2 separate regions of the Homo sapiens genome follow, and region 2 is linked to region 1. Evidence: promoter capture Hi-C in 16 types of primary human blood cells and fetal thymus (Javierre and others, 2016). All regions are on one chromosome and are shown on one strand. Each heading gives the region's core, a stretch centred on a gene start or on the middle of the fragment in contact. The rest is flanking DNA. Distances are from core to core; before and after follow the strand shown.

What was found. Contacts are between HindIII fragments. The CHiCAGO score rates a contact against its expected background, and 5 or more counts as called.
Region 2: a contact is called between the fragment with the promoter of CTNNBIP1 here and the fragment with the promoter of CENPS in region 1, in 2 of 17 cell types (fetal thymus and naive CD8 T cells). The highest score is 5.9, in fetal thymus.

What each region holds. Positions count from the first base shown.
Region 1 is chr1:10,425,921-10,433,641 of GRCh38, forward strand. It overlaps CENPS (centromere protein S), which reads left to right and starts at 4,513. Exons shown (of 5, transcript NM_199294.3): 1 at 4,513-4,648. The coding sequence starts at 4,598. CENPS-CORT (CENPS-CORT readthrough) reads left to right here and starts at 4,513. Exons shown (of 4, transcript NM_199006.3): 1 at 4,513-4,648. The coding sequence starts at 4,598. RefSeq lists enhancers at 1-591, 592-1,197, 5,111-5,160, 7,236-7,721 and silencers at 2,152-2,446, 4,611-4,860. The HindIII fragment of the contact is 4,555 bases long and covers 3,497-7,721 here.
Region 2 is chr1:9,906,759-9,914,479 of GRCh38, forward strand. CTNNBIP1 (catenin beta interacting protein 1) reads right to left here and starts at 3,511. Exons shown (of 6, transcript NM_020248.3): 1 at 3,337-3,511. RefSeq lists silencers at 3,059-3,118, 3,289-3,348, 3,359-3,958 and enhancers at 4,106-4,779, 4,780-5,452. The HindIII fragment of the contact is 9,783 bases long and covers 172-7,721 here.

The sequences.
Region 1 (7,721 bases), core at 3,263-5,762:
CAAAACTGCCACAGCGTGGAAGGGAACCCAAGCGGGTTGCCACTGCTGGCTTGGGCAGCCTGCTTTTATTCTCTTATCTGGCCCCACCCACGTCCTGCTGATTGGTAGAGCCCAGTGGTCTGTTTTGACAGGGCGCTGACTGGTGCGTTTACAATCCCTGAGCTAGACACAAAGGTTCTCCAAGGCCCCACCAGAGTAGCTAGATACAGAGTGTCGATTGGTGCATTCACAAACCCTGGGCTAAACAAAGGGTGCTGATTGGTGTATTTACAAACCTTGAGCTAGATACAGAGTGCCGATTGGTGTATTTATAATCCCTGAGCTAGACATAAAGGTTCTCCTCCTCCCCACCAGACTCAGGAGCCCAGCTGGCTTCACCCAGTGGATCCTGCACCAGGCTGCAGGTGGAGCTGCCTGCCAGTCCTGCGCCATGCGCCCACACTCCCCAGCCCTTGGGTGGTCGATGGGACTGGGCGCCGTGGAGCAGGGGGCCACGCTCATCGGGGAGGCTCGGGCCACACAGGAGCCCACGGAGTGGGTGGGAGGCTCAGGCATGGCGGGCTGCAGGTCCCGAGCCCTGCCCCACAGGAAGGCAGCTAAGGCCCAGTGAGAAATCGAGTGCAGCGCCGGTGGGCTGGCACTGCTGGGGGACCCAGTACACCCTCCGCAGCCGCTGGCCTGGGTGCTAAGCCCCTCATTGCCCTGGGCGGGCAGGGCCAGCCGGCTGCTCCGAGTGCGGGGCCCGCCAAGCCCACGCCCACCCGGAACTCCAGCTGGCCCGCAAGCGCCGCGCGCAGCCCTGGTTCCCGCTTGCGCCTCTCCCTCCACACCTCCCTGCAAGCTGAGGGAGCCGGCTCTGGCCTTGGCCAGCCCAGAAAGGGGCTCCCACAGTGCAGCGGTGGGCTGAAGGGCTCCTCAAGTGCCACCAAAGTAGGAGCCCAGGCAGAGGAGGTGCCGAGAGCGAGCGAGGGCTTTAGGACTGCCAGCACGCTGTCACCTCTCACTAATCTCAAGTACCCAGGGACAGAAACACTGCGGAAGGCCGCAGGGACCTCTGCCTAGGAAAGCCAGGTATTGTCCAAGGTTTCTCCCCATGTGATAGTCTGAAATATGGCCTCGTGGGAGGGAAAGACCTGACCGTCCCCCAGCCCGACACCCGTAAAGGGTCTGTGCTGAGGAGGATTAGTAAAAGAGGAAGGAACGCCTCTTGCAGTTGAGACGAGAGGAAGGCATCTGTCTCCTGCCCGTCCCTGGGCAATGGAATGTCTCAGTATAAAACCCGATTGTATGTTCCATCTACTGAGATAGGGGAAAACCGCCTTAGGGCTGGAGGTGGGACAGGCGGGCAGCAATACTGCTCTTCAAGGCATTGAGATGTTTATGTGTACACATATCTAAAGCACAGCACTTAATTCTTTACCTTATCTATGGTGCAGAGACCTTTGTTCAAGTGTTTATCTGCTGACCTTCTCTCCACTATTATCCTATGATCCTGCCACATCCCCCTCTCCGAGAAACACCCAAGAATGATCAATAAATACTAAGGGAATTCAGGCCGGCGGGATCCTCCATATGCTGAACGCTGGTCCCCTGGGCCCCCTTATTTCTTTCTCTATACTTTGTCTCTGTGTCTTTTTCTTTTCCAAGTCTCTCGTTCCACCTAACGAGAAACACCCACAGGTGTGGAGGGGCAACCCACCCCTTCAAGTTTCGCTCTTGTTTGCCCAGGCTGGAGTGCAATGCACGATCTCAGCTCACCGCAAAACCTCCGCCTCCCAGGTTCAAGCGATTCTCCTGCCTCAGCCTCCCGAGTAGCTGGGATTACAGGCATGCACCACTACGCCTGGCTAATTTTGTATTTTTAGTAGAGACAGGGTTTCTCCATGTTGAGGCTGGTCTCGAACTCCTGACCTCAGGTGATCCGCCTGCCTCGGCCTCCCAAAGTGCTGGGATTATAGGCGTGAGCCACCACGCCCGGCTGAACTAAATATTTATGGAACCCTCCTTAATGCAGATGAAAAGGATTAAAGAAACCCACCAAGGTCTTTGTCTTATTTATGGTGAGGGCAGTGGATAAACCGGAAACTCGGAAACCAGCCTAATAATCAAATCTGGTCTCTATCACTTCCCAGTAGTTTAGCCTTGGGCAGAGTTCTTTCACCTGTTTCCTCATGTAAAATGGGGCTAACAGCACCTACTTTTGAGGGCAGATGAGATATTAAATGAGTGCCTAGAGCGAGGACAAGTGCAAAGTGCTCAGTGTCATGGCAACATTGCCAGCGGGCATCCCTGGCCTTGCTTCACGCTGTAGTGCAACACTGACATCTAGTGGCCAGATTATAGGGCTACTTCTTCATCAAGTAAGTTTCAACCAAATATTAATATATCCTTTTTTCATTATTTTTTTTAGAGACAGTGTCTCCCTCTGTCACCCTGGCTGGAAAACAGTGGGGCAATCACGGCTCACCATAGCCTTGAACTGGGCTCAAGTGATCCTCCTGCCTTGGTCTCCCTAAGTGTTGGGATTACAGGCTTGAACCACCACACCCAGTTCCATTTTCTGTAATGAATACCTCAACCCTCGACCTATTTCTCAGACCTTTTTTTTTGAGACAGAGTCTCGCTCTGTTGCCCAGGCTGGAGTGCTATGGTGCGATCTCAGCTCACTGCAACCTTCACCTCCCGGGTTCAAGCAATCCTCCTGCCTTAGCCTCCCAAGTGCTAGGATTACAAGCATGTGCCACCATGTCTGGCTAATTTTTGTATTTTTTGGTAGAGACAGGGTTTCATCATGTTGGCCAGGCTGGTCTTGAACTCCTCACCTCAAGTGATCTACCTGCCTCGGCCTCCCAAAGTGCAGGAATTACAGGTATGAGCCACTGCTCCTAGCCTCTGAGGCTCTTAAGTGCCTCTGTATTGCACACATGTCACTGGAATACTGTTCTTTAATCCTGGGAAGCAACTGCTTTAAAATGAGGGAACACACAGGTACAAAGCACAGGAACTTCCTGGGACGAATTGTTACAATTTCTTTAGCTCTTATGTGAGGCAATTGTTTAAAACCTGACACCTGCCCTGTGAAGTTGGAACTACTGTCCCCAGTTGATAAATAAGGGACATGAAGCTTGGCCACGTCCTGTGACTTGCTTGGGGTCACCAGGCTCAAGGGAGGGAGCTGGGCTTTGCAGCCACAGTGTGCTCTAAATGGGGCTGCTCACCAACCAGCGACCGGCCTTCTCTCCTGCTGCAGGCTTGGTCTCACTCTGGATGGCCTGCCCTGCCCAGCCCCATGCTGCCCATTAGGGGAATCCGTCAGAGGCTTGCCCTGCTTGGGCAGGAGGACTGTCCAGGTAGACTGGGATGCCCACAGAGAGCAGTGGACAGAGGCGAGAAGTGCCTGTCATTTCCAGATGCCACCCACTGAGCAGATGCAGAGGAAAGTCCTCAGAAGGCTGATTCCTCCAAAAAGCTTTGATCTGGGTTTCAGCCCCTGGCAAGCTTAGGGAACTTGAGGGACGTCCCTGGGAAAGGAAGACAAGGAGTGGCTTTATGTGCTTTCCTTCGTTCTGAAAGTAGCACCTGCTTGTGACAAATGCAGAATACAGAAATATAGGCAATAAAAAATAATAAAACAAAAACCTAGAAATACAGGCAGGGCATGGTGGCTCACACCTGTAATTCCAGCACTTTGGGAGGCTGAGGTGGGATGATTGTTTGAAGCCAGGAGTTTGATACCAGCCTGGGCAACATAGTGAGACCTGGTCTCTACAAAAAATAAAAATTAGCCAGGTGCGCTGATGCAGGCTTGTGGTCCCAGCTACTTGGGAGGCTGAAGTGGGAGGATCACCTGAGCCCAGGAGGTGGAGGTTACAGTGAGTCTTGGTGGTGCCACTGCACTCCAGCCTGGGCGGCAGAGTGAGACCCTGCCTCTCAAAAAACTACAATAAAAACAAACCAAAATTGGGTTTGATGGTCTCACTTCATCGTTAACATAAAGGAAAAACAGTAACACTTGTGTCAGAACTATACTCCTGCCAATGGCAACAACGCAGTTCCTGTTCCACTCGCTGAATGAGGTCACGGGTCGTTCACTCATTGTAGTCTTTGTGACGCTATTGTTGGTGATAGAATGATAAAGTTGATGGTCGATTTTGCAAGATACACCTGAGGTACAGGTGCATGGAGCTCCTGATAATGTGTACTGCGTTACATGATCTGTAAATCGTGGGCTACGCATCCTCTACACCCGACTGGAACACGCTTTGCACCTATGCGCACACGTGTTTCGCGGAGAGTGGTGCTCAGCGTTGTGCCAGGCGCTGAATCAGGCTCTGGGGTGCAGCAGTGACCTCGGTGGTCATGTCCCCGCGTCGCCCGGCCACCTCCGCAGAGCAAGCTGAGCAGGGGGCTGGCTGGAGGCCGACGGCGGAATCCCCTCAACGGAGCGCCGCCAGGGGGCGCGCGAGGCAGGGCGGAGCTGCGTACTTTGTCCGCCCGCGCGGCCCGTCGCTCGCGCCGCGGCGGGAAAATCCGACCTGGCCGCGCACCACCGCCCCTTCTCGGCCCTCCTGCGTTTGCCCAGGGTCGGCCCGCAGTGATGGAGGAGGAGGCGGAGACCGAGGAGCAGCAGCGATTCTCTTACCAACAGGTACAGGAAAACGGGGGTCGGGCTGGGCTGGGGCAGGACGGCGTCGAGTTTCTGGACAGAAAAGTACCCGGCAGCCCCCGGCGGCTTCTCATCGGCACCCCGCCCCCGGGCGCCCCCCGCGGCTGCGCATGCGTTGGCTTAACTGCCGCGGGTGGTGCTGGGAGGCGGTTTCCGCGGCAACGCGGCTGGACCCTGGCCTGCGCTGGCTGGGGAGGAAGCGGTTCTAGGGGAGCGTGCGGGCGCCGGGGTCCGGCGGCGAGAGGCCACCTTCTGGCCTTGCGATGAATCCTCGGTTTCCCCTTCTCAGATGGGGTTTTCGTGAGGGTACAACGTCGGCATTAGACATTCCAGGTGACGCCCGTACGCGGTGGGCGGTTCGGGCCGGAGCTCTGGAACGCTGGCCCTGGAGGCGTCGACCCCTCGTTACTGATGCAGGGACGCGGTGCGGACCAGTCAGGCCCAGAGCTCGTCCTTAGATGTGGGTTCGAATCTCTGCCCCGCCAACTTGTGATCGTATCGACTCGGCCCAGACGCAATTTTCTTCTCTGCAAAATCGTCATAAGAATAATCACTTGTCAGGGTAGCTGCGGGCATCCCATTCGTTCCTTTCATCAGCGCCGGGCATATGGGGCGTCAGAGGCTGAGAACGTTGCCGTGAAGAGGCTTAAAAGCAAGACCCGGAGTGGCGACCTTAAAGAGGACGGACTGAAGAAACGCGGGAATGAGCTCCAGACGCGGGAGTTTCCTCTCTACAAAGTTACACTGCAGCAGCTGTCTACCCTGCCCCTTGTCTTTTGAGAAGTTCAAACCTTCAGAAAAGTTGCAAGAACACGGTACAGAATGCCCAGATGCCCGTCACCTTGATTCACCACTAGTTAGCATTTTGCTCTGTTTGCTCCCATGCTTCCCTCCCAGCCCCGCGATTGGAGAATTAATTGCAGATATTTTGACACTTCGCCTTTACATTTTAATTCTTTAGTACACATCTCCCAAAAACAAGGCATTGGCTGGGCGCGGTGGCTCACGCCTGTAATTCCAGCACTTTGGGAGGCCGAGGTGGGCAGATCACTTGAGGTCAGGAGTTCGAGACCAGACTGGCCAACATGGAAACCCCCTCTCAACTAAAAGTACAAAAATTAGCCGAGTGTGGTGGCAGGTGCCTGTAATCCCAGCTACTCGGGACGTTGAGGCAGGGGAATCGCTTGAACCCGGGAGGCGGAGGTTGCAGTGAGCCGAGATCGCACCATTGCACTCCAGCCTGGGTGACAGAGCGAGACTCCATCTCAGAAAAAAAAAAAAAAAAGGCATTCTCCTACTACATCATTTCAATAAATTGTCCCACTCAGGAAGTGGGACAATTAATTTTGATAAAACTCTATTGAATGTGCATTGTCAAGTGCCCCCACTTGTCCTAAAGATGTTTCTTTTAACTGTCTTTTTTCCTTCATCCAGGATTCAGTTAAGGATGGTGCATTGCATTTAGTCATCTTTGGTCCTGCCTACCCTGTTTTTTTTTGGTTGGTTTTTGTTTTTTTTGAAACGTAGTTTCACTCTTGTTGTCCAGGCTGGAGTGCAGTGGCTCCATCTCGCCTCACTGCAACCTCCACCTCCCAGGTTCAGGAGATTCTCCTGCCTCAGCCTCCTGAGCAGCTGGGATTACAGGCCCCTGCCACCACGCCCAGCTAATTTTGTATGTTTAGTAGAGACAGTTTCACCATGTTGGCCAGGCTGGTTTTGAACTCCTGACCTCAAGTGATCTGCCCGCCTTGGCCTCCTAAAATGCTGAGATTACAGGTGTGAACCACTGTGCCCGGCCTGTTCTTAGTCCCTAGAACAGAGCCTGGCTCTCAATAGACCAACAAATGCTTACTGATGAAGCTGCAAAGATGGGCTGAGAAATTTGCCCCTCAGCTGTGATTAGCTTGTAGACGATTTCCCCCCATTCATGTAACCAACTGTTCTAGGCACTTGGTAGGCAGCAGTGAACAAAATTGACAGGGTCCTGCCCTTGAGGAGTTTAGTGATTTAGCCTCTAAGTGCAGTGATACCCCAGCCCAGCCAGGGGGAGGGGAGGAGGAGGAGGAGGAAGATCTGAGAAAAATTCCTGGAGCCAAGAGCATTCAGAAGAATTCATGTCCTGTACCCTGACCCCCACCCATACCTAAAAAAGATGACCTTGAGCCGGGCAGGGTGTTGTGGGCCTGTAGTCCCAGCTACTCAAGAGGCTGAGGCAGGAGGTTCACTTGAGCCCAGGAGTTCGAGGCTGTAGTGTGCAGTGATCACACCTGTGATCTTCGTGCCTCCCAGGTTGATGCCTCTTTGGCTTCTCCTACCAGAGGCCTCAGCTTACCTAGTCTTGTGAGGTCTGAAATTCAGGAAAGTAGATGCCCTCCTCATCTGTCTGGCCTCTATCCTGAGTTCCTGGACTTGGGTTTTGGCAGTTCCTCCTCCTCTTGCCTATGCGTTGAACACTTGCTGGTAGATTTTATGCCCTTGTGGGTTCAGCTGTCATCACGTGCAGCTCAGCTGTGTCTTCGGCCCCGAGGCGGAGTACCCACAGGTGGGCTCAACAGAACTCTGTCGACACGTGGCTGAGACCATTGCTTAGCTTGTCTTGCAATTGAGGCTCATCCTCCCCTCTCGGTAATTTTCTGCAAGGGGTGGAGAGATCTTTTTCAGTATTGAAAAGGTTTGCCAAGGAGCAGTGAGGGCCCCGTGGAGGTGGCCTCCCAACCCTCCAAATCGAGAGGGGTGGGTGTGCCCTCTTGAGCCTTTCCCGTGTTGTACTTCTGTCCTCTGTGACGTGCAGGCCTGGGGCTGCCAGGGGCTTGCAGCAGAGGGATGGGATCCTTCTGTATTGTTGATTAACTGCCTTAAGGGCAAAGTTCCCTGCCCGGTTTTTCATTGTTTCCCAAACACCTAGCATATGCCCTTACTGAGTTGGAGCTCTGCAGATAGTTTGGAATAAGTGAGTGAAACCACTCAGGGCCTTGGCAGGCATCAGTCTGACCTGTCTCCCCACTGACTTGCCATCTAATTTCTTATCTTTACCTGACATAAATCATAACCATTA
Region 2 (7,721 bases), core at 2,261-4,760, 520 kb before region 1:
TACAAGAAGCATGGTCTGATGAAAAGACAGGGGCAGGGGCAGGAGTCTTGGTGCGATGAGATGCCCAGGCAAGTCAACCAATATTTGAAGAGTTTACATTTTGTGCAGGGCGCTGATTCAGACACTGTGGACGATGCAAAGACAAACCCAGTAGAGATTCTGGCCTCAGAAAGCTTAGAGTCACATGTGTACACATGGAGATGAAATGGGGTAGAAACTAGCAGGCATCATAAGAAAATGCATAAACTGCTATAAGATTTCAAAAGAGCCAGCTTCTAGGGGACACAGACGCTTAACCATAAAAGAAGGGGCTGGCCTGTGTAACCCCCAAGGTCCTCTCATTCTGACATGTTCTGACAGCACAGATTTGGAGCAGCATGGAGATAAGTTTTATTCTGTTTTTTGGGGAGTTTTTTTGTTTTTTGTTTTTGAGACAGAGTCTTCCTCCGTCGCCCAGGCTGGAGTGCAGTGGCACGATCTTGGCTCACTGCAACCTCCACCTCCCTGGTTCAAGCGATTCTCCTGCCTCAGCCTCTCGAGTAGCTGGGATTACAGGCACTCGCCATCATGCCCAGCTGATTTTTGTATTTTTAGTAGAGACGGGTTTTCACCATGTTGCCCAGGCTGGTCTTGAGCTCCTGACCTCAGGTGATCCGCCCGCCTTGGCCTCCTAAAATGTTGGCATATACAGGGGTGAGCCACTGCACCTGGCCTCATTCTCATTAATAGCTCAAGTTTGTGGCCACTGAAACATTCTCCTACCTACCATGAGAACAGGCCCAATTTCCTGGTGCAACATCTTCCAACAGTGGCAGTAATGTTCCCATTTAAACAATACAACCGGATGTGGGAATGAAACCCAGTGTATTATGCCCTCCTCCACCTCTAACTGGTTTTTAAACCCACAAACCCTCTCCAATCAAGGAGGCGGGGACCTGTTCTGTGAGCACGTTGTTATGGGACATCTAACTCTCAGTCTCCAAAGTTTTGCTTTGCAGCTCTCCCAGAGGGAACAGACTGATTCCACCTCTTCGTTTCCACTGCCACTGCCCCGATCCCTCAAGCCACCATCATCTCTTGCCAGGCAGCTGCAATAGTCTGTCTCATAACTGGTATTCCTGCCTCCACCTTTGCTCCTTAGAATCCAGTCTCTACACAGTGGCCAGAACAATCTTTTGGAACAAATCAGACTTTATTCTTTCTCTGCTTAAAACCCTCCAATGGCCTCTAACTGTTCTTGGAATAAAATCCAAACTCTTTATTACGACCTACAAAATCTTTGTTTTGATCTACAGGTTCTTTTTCTCCACCCCCGCCCAAGACGGAGTTTTGCTCTGTTGCCCAGGCTGGAGTGCAGTGGCGCAATCTCGGCTCACCGCAACCTCCGCCTCCCAGGTTCAGGAAATTCTCCTGCCTCAGCCTCCCAAGTAGCTGGGACTACAGGCATGCACCACCACGCTCAGCTAATTTTTGTATTTTTAGTAGAGACAGGGTTTCACCATGTTGGTCAGGATGGTCTCGAACTCCTGACCTCGTGATCTGCCCGCCTTGGCCTCCCAAAGTGCTGGGATTACAGGCATGAACCACTGAGTCCGCCCTGATCCACAGATTCTTTTTTTTTTTTTTTTTTTTTGAGACGGAGTCTCGCTCTGTCGCCCAGACTGGAGTGCAGTGGCGTGACCTCGGCTCACTGCAAGTTCCACCTCCCGGGTTCACGCCATTCTCCTGCCTCAGCCTCTCCGAGTAGCTGGGACTACAGGTGCCCACCACCACGCCCAGCTAATTTTTTGTATTTGTAGTAGATATGGGGTTTCACCGTGGTCTCGATCTCCTAACCTCGTGATCCGCCCGCCTCGGCCTCCCAAAGTGCTGGGACTACAAGCGTGAGCCACCGCGCCCGGCCACAGATTCTTATATGTAATCTGGCCCCTCTCCATCTTCATAGCACTTACCACTACTGAAATTATTTTGTCCACTTGTTTGTTTACTCACTTATTGTCTGACTTTCCTCCTCTTTAAAATGTCATCTCTGAGGAGGGCAGAAACCGTGTCTGTCTTCACCACTAAAGCCCCAGTACTTGGAACGGTGCCTGGCACATAGTAAATGCTCACTACTGAATGAATGAATCTCCATCCCATAGAGGTGATTTGTATTTACAAGGGAGGACCACGAACTCCCCCAGCAAACCGTGAATGACACATTGGCATTTAACAGCCCGCACCTTTATTTATGATCCAAAGTCCTACTTTAAATCTGAGGAAGCTGCTGGTATCTCTGGACATTTTAATGGCACAAGAGATCAGTTATCACTTGGGGACACACTCCAGGAACTGGAGCCCAGTGGTTGTAGCAGGGAGCTAAGAGCCAAGGCTCCTGCGAACAGAACTTCAAGACAAACCATGACTTGCCTCCAGGTCCCTTACCCACACACCCTGTACCTCAATTTACCCAGCAGTTGGCCAGACATGTTCCTCTCAGTTCTGTGAGTGACAGGAGACAAAATAATTCACAGCTGGAGCATACTGAGATCCTCAGACAGGAGGTGGTGCAAGCCACACGTCTCATTATTCATAAAACTCTTGATTTGCGGCCAACACGGCCCCCGCCGCCTTCCCAGGGGCTAACCTGACAACAGGCACTGCTCAGACAAGTTCAGCTCACAAGGCAGAGGGAGGGATGGAGGGCCTAGCAGAGGCTGGGTGTCCAGACCTGAGTGTCTCGGTTACCAGGTTCCAAAAAAAGGAAGGTGGTTGGGGTGGGGTGATGAAAAGGAGGTGAGAGGTGCAGTTTGGGGCTCCAGGTGGTTAATTTTGCAGGTTCGTGCATACACGCCCGCCATCCAGGTGAGATATGTGCCCCCACCAGGTACCTTCCAGGAAGGCTCACCGGGGAGGGGTGGAATCGGGAGACGACAGTTCAATCAAACTACAGAGGGAGGAAGGGCGGCCCAGCGTTTAGTTTGGGGAAATATGGAGAGTAAGAGTCTCAGAGTGGGCGCAGGTGAGGGAAGAGGCAGGGGCCCAGAGGTCGGGAGGGCGGACGGGCGATGACAGGCACCCGGACGCGGTGAGGTGAGCAACAAGGTGGGCGGCGCGGACACCTGTGGAGGCGACCCCCGGGCGAAGAGTCAGGGAGGCGGGAGGTGGTCTGCGGCGAGAGGCGGCCAGGCCCAGACCAGGGCGCCGCGCCGCTGGGGCAGTCAGGGGTCCGAGCGGGGTCGGGGGCGCTCTCCGCGGCCCCTCCCCGGCAGACAAAGGGCTGGCCGCTCCCCCAAGCCCCGGCGCGGCGCGGCGCGGGCCCGGGCGGTGCAGGCGCGGCCCGGCCTCGGCGCTTACCTGGGCCGCCCGACCCGGCCGGGCCGGCAGGGGCAGCGGGTCCGGCGCGCAGCGCGCGGCGGCCTGTTCCGGGGCGTGCTCAGCCCGAGCAGCCGCTGCGGCGGCGGCAGTAGCAGCAGCAGGAGCGGCCGCCTCAGCCTCCGCCTCCCGCTCCGAGAGTCACCGCGGTGGGGAGGGAGGGAGGCGCCAGGCCGCCGGGGGAGGGACCGGCGGAGGGGGCGGCATCTGGCTCCGCGCGGGCTGCTGAGGCGCGGCGGCGGCAACGCCCCGGAGGGAGGCGGGCGCGTGGGGCCGGGCGCCGGGGCGGGGCCTGCGGGCGGGGCGGGGCCCGGGGCCGCGAATTGGTTAACTCAGCCTGTGGGCGGGGCTGCGCGGTGCGGGGCGGGGCCTTGTGGCGCATGTGAACGCTCATTGGGCCCTCCTGGAAGGGGGCGAGACCAGCGACATAGGGACGGGGCCATGCGGTGGGCGGGTGGAACACGGCGCCGGTAGTGAGTGGCCGAGTCCGCGCTGAGAGCAAAGGGGAGGAGCGGGCCGGGGGTGAGCAGGGAAGGCGGGTTGGGCGCGAGGAGGAGGCGGTGGCCTGGAGGAGGAGCCGGGTAAGGCTGAAGCTGGCGCTGCGGTAAAGCCACTCTGCGTGTCCCTATCTGCTCCAGGAGCACAGTGTTCCGGAAAAATAATGGCCTCTCCCACACACCGGTCTGTGTTTAAAAACGGGAGCAACAAGACGGGGCAGAATCCTTGGTGAGGCCAGTTTACCCAGAACCCCGGAAAATTCTGAAATGGACGAGGTTGCAGAACATTTAGAGGCGTGGTCTTCCTGCGTCGTTGAGCTGGGAACGTTGCTACCTCTGAGCTTGGGGCCTAACCTGGGATTAACCTAGCCCAGAGAGCCCAGGGATGGGCCTCCGTAGGTCCATTAAACTCAGAAGGTCGTGTGTACTGGTAGTGAGTGGATTTTTCGGGGGAAGGGTGCCCATGATTAAAATGTTTCTACAGAAAGTCTGGCTGTATTTGGAGAGGGTACAGGGAGAAGCAGCCCATTTTAGGTAAAATGCAAATTGCTTTTAACATCCGCCTTCCTTTTAAAGGGACCTGTATCTTTAAGTGTGGTCTCATTTTCAGCAGTTTAAATTATCAGTTACACAGTGTGACACTAACCCCAGTTCAGAAGCCCTCCTACCCTACTCCTCCCACAGCCTTTCTTTTTACACCTTTTCTGTACCATCCTCTTCCACTCCACATTTCTTCCCCTTCCCTATGCAAAAAGAATACGAAGTCCTTTTTTGTTTGTTCGTTTATAATATAATATCCACATTACTCTTTACTCATTTGGGGGGTTTTTTTGTTTTTGAGAGGGAGTCTCGCTCTGTCGCCCAGGCTCAGGTGCAGTGGCGCGATCTTGGCTCACCGCAACCTCCGCTTCCCGGGTTCAAGCGATTCTCCTGCCTCAGCCTCCTGAGTAGATGGGATTACCGGCATGCGCCCCGGCTAATTTTTGTATTTTTAGTAGAGACGGGTTTTCTCTATGTTGGCCAGGCTGGTCTCCAACTTCTGACCCCAAGTGGTCTGCCCGCCTCGGCCTCCCAAAATGCTAGGATTACAGGCCTGAGACACCGCACCCGGCCTGCTCACACTTTTTCATACTTAATAGGTCCCCGGCCGGGCGCAGTGGCTCATGCCTGTAATCTCAGCACTTTGGGAGGCCAAGGCAGACAGATCACCTGAGGTCGGGAGTTGGAGACCAGCCTGACCAACATGAAGAAACCCCGTCTCTACTAAAAATACAAAAATTAGCCGGGCGTGGTGGCGCATGCCTGTAATCCCAGCTACTCAGGAGACTGAGGCAGGAAAATCGCTTGAACCCGGGAGGCGAGGGTGCAGTGAGCCGAGATTGCGCCATTGCACTCCAGCCTGGGCAACAAGAGCGAAACTCTGTCTGAAAAAAAAAAAAAAAAAAAAATTGGTCCCCAAGTGGGTTTCTCCTACAGTGTCCCCACCTTCAGTAACTGGCACCACTCTCTACCCAGTTGCTTACACCAGACACTTAAATTGTACCGTTGACACCACTCTTTCCTTTATTCTTCATTTCCAGTCCATGTTGTTTCCAATTCTAAATGGTGTCCTTAATCTCTCCACCTCCTACCATCTCTACCCCTCTTTCCCAGTTTAACCTGCCACCAGCTATCACCTTGACTCCTGCAATAACCCTTCAAGCAGTCTCTCCTTTAGGCTCTCCTTACGCCCCCATTCACTGCCCACACAGCAACTAAAGGAAACTTCTTAAAATCTTGTCAGACCTGCGCTATTCAACGACTTCTCTTCATTTTCACGAGGAAGTTCAAAGTCCTTAGTGTGGCAACAAGGCCTTACAGGATCTGGCTACAGCCTGATCTTGAACCACTTTTGCCAACTGGGCTCTAGCCACATATGGGCCTTGTGCCTGTTCCTTGATCACAGGGAGCTCTTTTGTGCTTCAGGTCTTCTGATTGCGCTGTTCCCTTGGCCTCAATGGCTCTTTTCCGATTTCTCCCCACTTCACCTGCCTGAATACTTGGTCTACTTCCGGGAGACCTCTTAATGGATGCTAGCCCTAGTCCCACAGCATGGCTATAAACTCCAGGAGGGCAAGGACCATGCCACCAAGCACAATACCTGTATCCACAAATATTACTGCAGGAACAAACTGAATGTGTAAATACTCCATCCAGGACTTTCCCTTCCATCGGCCGGCCAGCCACTCCTACTCCCCGCCTCCGACCCCCAGGGCTATCAGCCTTCTCCTCCTTACTCTTCTCTCACTGCATTTATGGTTCGATATTTTCTCCTTTCAGCTCTGGAGAGGGCCTCCGTGTGGTCCCAGAACATATATTAGGTATCTTTTTTTTCTTTTTTTTGAGATGGGGTCTCAGTCTGTTGCCCAGGCTGGAGCACAGTGGTGCAATCTTGGCTCACTGAAACCTCCACCTCCTGGATTCAAGTGATTCTCCTGCTCAGCCTCCTGAGTAGCTGGGATTACAGGCACCCGCCACCATGCCCAGCTAATTTTTTGTATTTTTAGTAGAGACGGGGCTTCACCATGTTGGCCAGGCTGGTCTCGAACTCCTGACCTCAAGTGATCTGTTGGCCTCAGCCTCCCAAAGTGCTGGGACTACAGCTGTGAGCCACCATGCTGGCCTATTATGTATCTTTAAATAGTTGCTTTCTGGAGCAAAAAAAGAAAAAAAACACTATTTTTTTTCTCTTTTTTTTCTTTCTTTTTTTTGAGATGAAGTCTCATTGTCGCCCAGGCTAGACTGCAGTGGTGTGATCTTGGCTCACTGCAGCCTCCGCCTCCTGTGTTCAAGTGATTCTCCTGCCTCAGCCTTCCTAGTAGCTGGGATTACAGGCATGCGCCACCACGCCCAGCTAATTTTTGTATTTTTAGTAGAGACAGGGTTTCACCATATTGGCCAGGCTGGTGTCAAACTCCTGATCTCAAGTGATCCACCCGGTCTCAGCCTCCCAAAGTGCTGGGATTATAGGCGTGAGCCACCGTGCCCAGCCAAAAAACTGTTCTCTACAGCAAAGGATAACTATAAGAGTAAAATTTTCAGGCGAAGTATGAAATAACAGTGCAACCATAGCAGGCTGCAGGGAAGGATAACTGTTTTTTATTTATTTAGAGATGGGATCTCCCTCTGTCACCCAGGCTGGAGTGCAGTGGCATGGTCCTAGCTCACTGTACCTTAAACTCGCAGATTCAAGCAATTCTCCTGCCTCAGTCTCTGGAGCAACTAGGGCTACAGGCGTGTGCCACCATCCCCCAGTTAATTTTTTTTTTTTTTGAGACAAAGTCTTCCTCTGTCACCCAGGCTAGAGTGCAGTGGCATGATCTCAGCTCACTGCAACCTCTGCCTCCCGGATTCAAGCGATTCTTCTGTCTCAGCCTCCCGAGTAGCTGGGATTACAGGCGCCCACCACCATGCCTGGCTAATTTTTGTATTTTTAGTAGAGACAGGGTTTCACTGTCTCTACCAGCCAGGCTGGTCTTAAACTTTTGACCTCAGGTGATCCACCCACCTCGGCCTCCTGAACTGCTGGGATTACAGGCATGTGCCACCGCACCCGACTTTTTTTTTTTTTTTTTTTTGAGATGGGGTTCACCATGTTGCCTAGGCAGCTCTCTTAACTCCTGGTCTCAATCAGTCCTCCTCCCACCTCGGCCTCTCAAAGCACTAGGATTATAGGCAGAAGAGCTATTTTAAAGCAGTTGGGGGTTTATGGCAACAACTTAAATTTTACTCTATAAGAAGGTCTTCTGCTTACAAGTTGAGCAAGTACAAGGTCAGAATGAGTAAATTAATAACTTCCAGTATTTAGAAAGTGAAAAAATGATCTTTTGC